Regions from separate parts of the Homo sapiens genome. Here region 1 is linked to region 2. Evidence: promoter capture Hi-C in human tissues and cell types (Jung and others, 2019). All regions are on one chromosome and are shown on one strand. The core of a region is centred on a gene start or on the middle of the fragment in contact, and the rest is flanking DNA. Distances in the headings are between cores, read along the strand shown. Region 1 overlaps RIC1 (RIC1 partner of RAB6A GEF complex). Region 2 holds the start of RLN1 (relaxin 1).

Evidence for each region. The method cuts DNA at HindIII sites, captures the fragments that hold promoters and counts their contacts. A contact is called where the count stands out against the background at its distance.
Region 1: a fragment that was not itself captured here is called in contact with the fragment with the promoter of RLN1 in region 2 in 1 of the 25 tissues and cell types used here (heart left ventricle).

What each region holds. Positions count from the first base shown.
Region 1 is chr9:5,686,275-5,689,129 of GRCh38, forward strand. All of the region lies in intron 2 of RIC1 (RIC1 partner of RAB6A GEF complex), which reads left to right. Among named protein-coding and RNA genes, the nearest start is that of INCR1, 58 kb to the left of the region's middle. The HindIII fragment of the contact is 4,729 bases long and covers 1-2,855 here.
Region 2 is chr9:5,338,483-5,341,238 of GRCh38, forward strand. RLN1 (relaxin 1) reads right to left here and starts at 1,394. Exons shown (of 2, transcript NM_006911.4): 1 at 1,054-1,394. The coding sequence starts at 1,264. It also overlaps a transcript of RLN2 not described here. The HindIII fragment of the contact is 11,119 bases long and covers 1-2,756 here.

The DNA of each region.
Region 1 (2,855 bases), core at 140-2,639, 350 kb after region 2:
GGGTATATACCCAAATGACTATAAATCATGCCGCTATAAAGACACATGCACACGTATGTTTATTGTGGCACTATTCACAATAGCAAAGACTTGAAACCAACCCAAATGTCCAACAATGATAGACTGGATTAAGAAAATGTGGCACATATACACCATGGAATAGTATGCAGCCATAAAAAATGATGAGTTCATGTCCTTTGTAGAGACATGGATGAAATTGGAAATCATCATTCTCAGTAAACTATCACAAGAACAAAAAACCAAACACCGCATATTCTCACTCATAGGTGGGAATTGAACAATGAGATCACAGGGAGACATGAAGGGGAATATCACACTCTGGGGACTGTGGTGGGGTGGGGGGAGGGGGGAGGGATAGCACTGGGAGATATACCTAAGGCTAGATGACGAGTTAGTGGGTGCAGCGCACCAGTATGGCACATGTATACATATGTAACTAACCTGCACAATGTGCACATGTACCCTAAAACTTAAAGTATAATAATAAAAAAAAAGAATATGTTAATGAGGGATCTTGGCCTGTAGTTATAATGTCTTTGTCTGGTTTTGTTATGAGGCCTCATAAAATGAGATAGGAAGTGGTTCCTTCTCTTTGGTGTTCTGGAAGAGTCTGTATTCAACTGATATTATTTATTTCTTAAAGAGTTGGTAGAATTTACCAGTGATGCTGTCTCAGCCTAGAATTTTCTTTGTGGAAAGGATTTGAATTGGAATTATAATTTCTTTAACAGACATTGGCTTTTCAGGGTACAGATTTCTTTTCAGTGAACTTTGGTGGTTTGTGTTTATCAAGGAATTTGTCCATCTCATCCAAGTTGTTAAAATTATTGTCATATTAATAATGTGACCTCATTATTCTTTTAATACCTCTAGAATTTGTAGTGATATCACCTCTTTGATTTCTGTTAGTGGCTCTTTTTTGCCTGATCAGTGTGACCAGAAATATGTCAGTTTTAGTGATCTTCTAAAACAATAACAAAAGAACCCCAGATTTTTATTCATTGATTTTATTTTTCTGTTTTCTATTTCATTGATTACCACTCTGATCTCTGTTATTTGCATGCTTCCCCACCCTCCACCACTTGCTTTGGATTTCGTTTGCTCTAGTTTAATTTGTTTCTAGTTTAAGGTAGAAGCTTGTCATTGATTTGAGATTTTCCTTTTTTTCTAATATAAGTATTTTAAGGCTGTAAATTTCCTCTTTAGTACTGCTTTAGCAGCATCCCACAAATTTTGGGATGATGTATTTTTAAAATTTCCCTTTTTCTCCTTTGATTCATGGGTTATTTAGAAGTATGCAGTTAAGCTTCAAAATATTTGTGGGCTTTCCAGAATTTTTTTTATTTGTTTCTAGTTTTGTTCTATTGGGATCAGGAAACATATATTATACACATTTTATTTTTACACACGGTATAAACCCCAGCATACACTGCTATTATTCTTGTTTTAAAGCCTGTTATCTTTTAAAGAAATTTAAGTGAAGCAAATGAAATTTGAATTTAATTAAATATTTTTTTTCTGACTCTTACCCCTGTCATGCGGAGACTCTGTTTATATGTATATTGGGCTACATGAAGTTGTTCCTCAATTCACTGATTTTGTTTCTGTTTTATTTTGGGTTTTTTTGTGTGTGTGTGTGTTTCATTATGGATAATTTTTATTGCTGTGCTTTTCTGATCATTGTCTAACCTGTCATTCATCCAGCCAATGTCTTTTTCATCTCAGATATTTTAGTATTTCTGTTTCTAGAGTTTTGTTTGAGTTTTCTATATTGCCTAACCTTTGGAACATACAGAATATAGTTCACATTTGGAACATTATGAAATATAGCAAAAGGTTTTAATGTCCTTTTGTGCTAATTTTAACATCTGATTGAGTTATGCATTGTTTTGATTGGTTGATTTTTCATTATGTCTCATGTTTGTCTTACTCTTCCTGGACTCTTCAGCTTCTTCTCAACTCTGGAAGTCTGCCAGGCTTTGTCTTAGTGCGCCTTCTAAGTGTGCTGACCCAGAAATTCTCACAAGGCAGTAAGCTGGGTAAGAGTAGGAGGGTCACTTCAGTTGTTTCTTATCTCTCAAGGATGACTGGCCTTCATTGCTTGATGCCAGTGTTTTGAAAAGTATTTCATAGATTTTGTCTGTTTTTGTTGTTGTTGTTGTTCTTGTTTTTTTATGTGTGAAACCTTTGTTATGATTTGATTTGAAGCCATTTTCCTTTTGCTTCCATACTCTCCATATTGCAAGAACATAAAATTGCACATAAAGAATTAGAAAGATGATCTTATCTGAAGAATTTTCACCCTTTTGTTTTTGTATCTTACAGTGTTGAAACTCTAGTTTCAAATACATTATAAAATAGTAAAGTTAATGGTCAAAAAGAAAGCAAACCACCTGGTTTTGCTGAAGAAACTAAGTATTTTCTTGGTCATTCCTTTGAAAAACAGGAAGCCAGAATTAGAAAGTAATTTGAAACCTTGGATAATTTCTTGGTTTTCTTTGGTTCTACTTTGAGTACATGCCCACCTCCCTCTAAAATGATAGGAATTCAGTATTACTGTAAAGTAGTTTGGGCAAAACACTGCCACTTCACTCTGTTAGGCGTAAAAATGTTTGGCTGGAAACAGCTAAATATAATATTTTGTACTTACAGAAATGTAAAATGGTTGTTTGAACTTCACAAATGTATGTATGTCATGACGCAGATGTATGTCATGATCATGTAATAGCACTGTTTTTAATACAATTTCTTTTTTTTTTTTTTTTTTTTTTGAGACGGAGTCTCGCTCTGTCGCCCAGCGGGGAGTGCAGTGGCGCGATCTTAGCTCACTGCAA
Region 2 (2,756 bases), core at 144-2,643:
AAATTACATGTCATACTAATACAAAACACTTAGTATTTGCAACTGCGGTTACTTTCTCTGAATTTAATATGACCCGTTACACTTCTTAGACTAGTATATACCTCCATGAGTTTCCACTGCTACTTTATAAATACTAAAATATTTTTAAAAGCCATTTCAGATTGAGCTGTACTCAACTCTAAGAGCTTGCCTTTAAAGCAAACCCACTGCAGCTTCCAAATGCTTGAAAGCATCAGTAGGGTCTTCAGCTATGATGGTCTGAACGGCCTGCTTTCCTTGTCTCTGGTCCTCTTGAGTTTCTCCTAAAGGCATTCAAGCCTTTCCTTTCTCTTCCATCCCCTGCCTCACAAATGAACTTCAATACCCAGATCAAAGAAGCGGGAGGTCAGACTCTTTCCTTTGGGATTTTCTGTTTGTTTATTTTAAAGAACGTTTCCAATGGCAAAGGCCACAGCCCAACTTCTGGACTAGGAGAGTCATTAAGTGTAAGGCCCTTCCTGTCTTCCCATCACGGGACCCTCACAGAGACCTCAGAGTGTTGCCCCGTCCTACAGGCGCGCAAACAGGCTTGATAACTAGCGCGCCGCCTCAGTGTTTGTCCCCTCTCCTCTCTATCCGAGAAGCCCTGTTCAGGTGCCCCCACCAGCACGCCCGCTGTCTGGCCGCCTGGCTTTCCTGTGGGGTGCAGGAGTGCGCCCGGCCTCCTGCGGGTCTCCGGGCGGCGTCACCTCCTCTGAGGCTTCCCCTCCCTTTCCACCCCGTCGCTCTGACTGCCTTACGGAAAGGGCACCAAGGAACTCTCGGGTGAAGCAGCTTCCTGTTCTCAGTGCTTTCCCTCCGTCCGGTGAGATTCCCAGTGAGACTGTTTGAATAAAATCACCTGGCAAAGGAAAAGCCCAAACTTTAGGGACCAGCCACGGCTGAGTAGGGGCTGAGCGGTGGCAGCCAATGAGATCTCGAGTCGGACGTGCAGGCCGCCGTTCCAATTGGGCGGCCGCCCCAGAGTAACCAATGGGAAGCGCGGGAAGGCCGGGAGGGGGCGGGAGCTCTCACCTGCCACTGGTCTAGGTGTCTGAGGAGCATCTTCCTGGCTCAGAGACCTTTTGCTCCAGGTGCTCATGCCGCAAATGGCAATCTGCGCGCGAACTAATTCGCGGCCGCATAATTTAATAACATCGTCCTTCCATTTGGCCGCGACTGCTCTGGAAAATTGGTTCAGTAGTAAACAGAATTCTAGCAGGTGGAACAAGAACAGGCGAGGCATCCTGGGCCTGGTCTCTCCTGGAGGTCTGGGTGTTGCAGCCTTTCAGGACTGCGGCTGCTGTGGCCTACACACCTGGGCCTGTGTGCCTGTCCCGGGCTTTAGGCTGCTTTCCCTACCCGGCTCAACCAGTCTTTAGTATGGGCTATCACTCAGCTTTTAAGGCAAGGTTGCCAGCTCCACCCCTTTCCCACACCCCTCCACAGAATTTTCTCCTTCAGCTCTTGTTCTGCCTCTCCGCCCTTCCTTCATTTGCCCATTCCTCTGTCCTTGGCCCTTTTACAGTTTTGTTTTTCGCTCTTTTGTTACCCTGAAACAACTTTGTATACTTAGGTAAAGTTATTTTAGATATGAAGCCTTTCTTTTTACATACACAGAAATAAAATTGAGATCGCCAATATTCTTACAACCCAGTTTTCCAGAGTGAACATTTGCCAAAAACCCTTCTAACCTAAATAGGATTATAGATTACCTTATAAATTGGATTAATTAGTATAATGTTGGGCATATCAATCCATAAAAATATAATGGATGAATGAATAAATTGTTGATGAGAGGGAAAACTGATGACTTTTAATCTGAATCCAGGTAAAAAGATTAAAATCCCCAGTAACATCATTTTAGGCTTGTGCAGTAATGTCTTTAATTTACAAAACAATTTCTCCATTGGACTTTCCTTCCACTCCTGTGGGAGAAGTTTGATTGTAACTAGTTGTCTAAATATTTTAATTTAAAATTCTAGTCTATGTCTCTGGAGACTGGAGAACACACCACACACACAGAGAGAGAGAAAGAGAGAGAGAAAAGAAGAAGAGAAAGAAGAAGGGGAAAAAAAGCAGTGGACATCCCACATTCCCAGAAATAATATTTTGATAACAAATTACAGCACAAGGATATGTTCATTTGTTTACTGTATTTTGTGTTTGCTGCACCTGGTTAGAGGTGATTCTTTTTTTATTACCACCACCTAATTTAGCATTTTAAAGATCCACACAGTTCTAGATAATATGGTTAGTAGACGACCCTTCTACCTGTAAATTTTTAGTACAAATAGGTTCATTTTTAAAAATAACTTACTTGCTTGTGTTCATAATATACTCAGATTAGTTCAGCTCCATCAGATAAACTGGAGACATGCAGGACGTTATGGTAGCTTTGAAATAAAATAATAACAATCTCTTAGTTACAAACATAACTATGGAATCAAGTAATTCTAATTTCTAGATTGCTGGTGATTTCAGTAGGCCCACTTAACATTGGTCAAATGCCAAGCAATGTGTAATTCTTCAAAAAATACCTGACCAAAGCTATGAGATGGTTAGAGGCAATTAATGATTTTAAATGGATTTTCACTAAAACACACAGTTTGAGAAAGGCCTCTCAAAACTGAGGTTTGAAAATATTTTCGTGGGTTAACAGTCCTTGTAAAAACAATCCACGTGCTAGGCTGTACTCCAAATTAATTGCTCATTAAAAATGTAAATTTCCAGAGTTT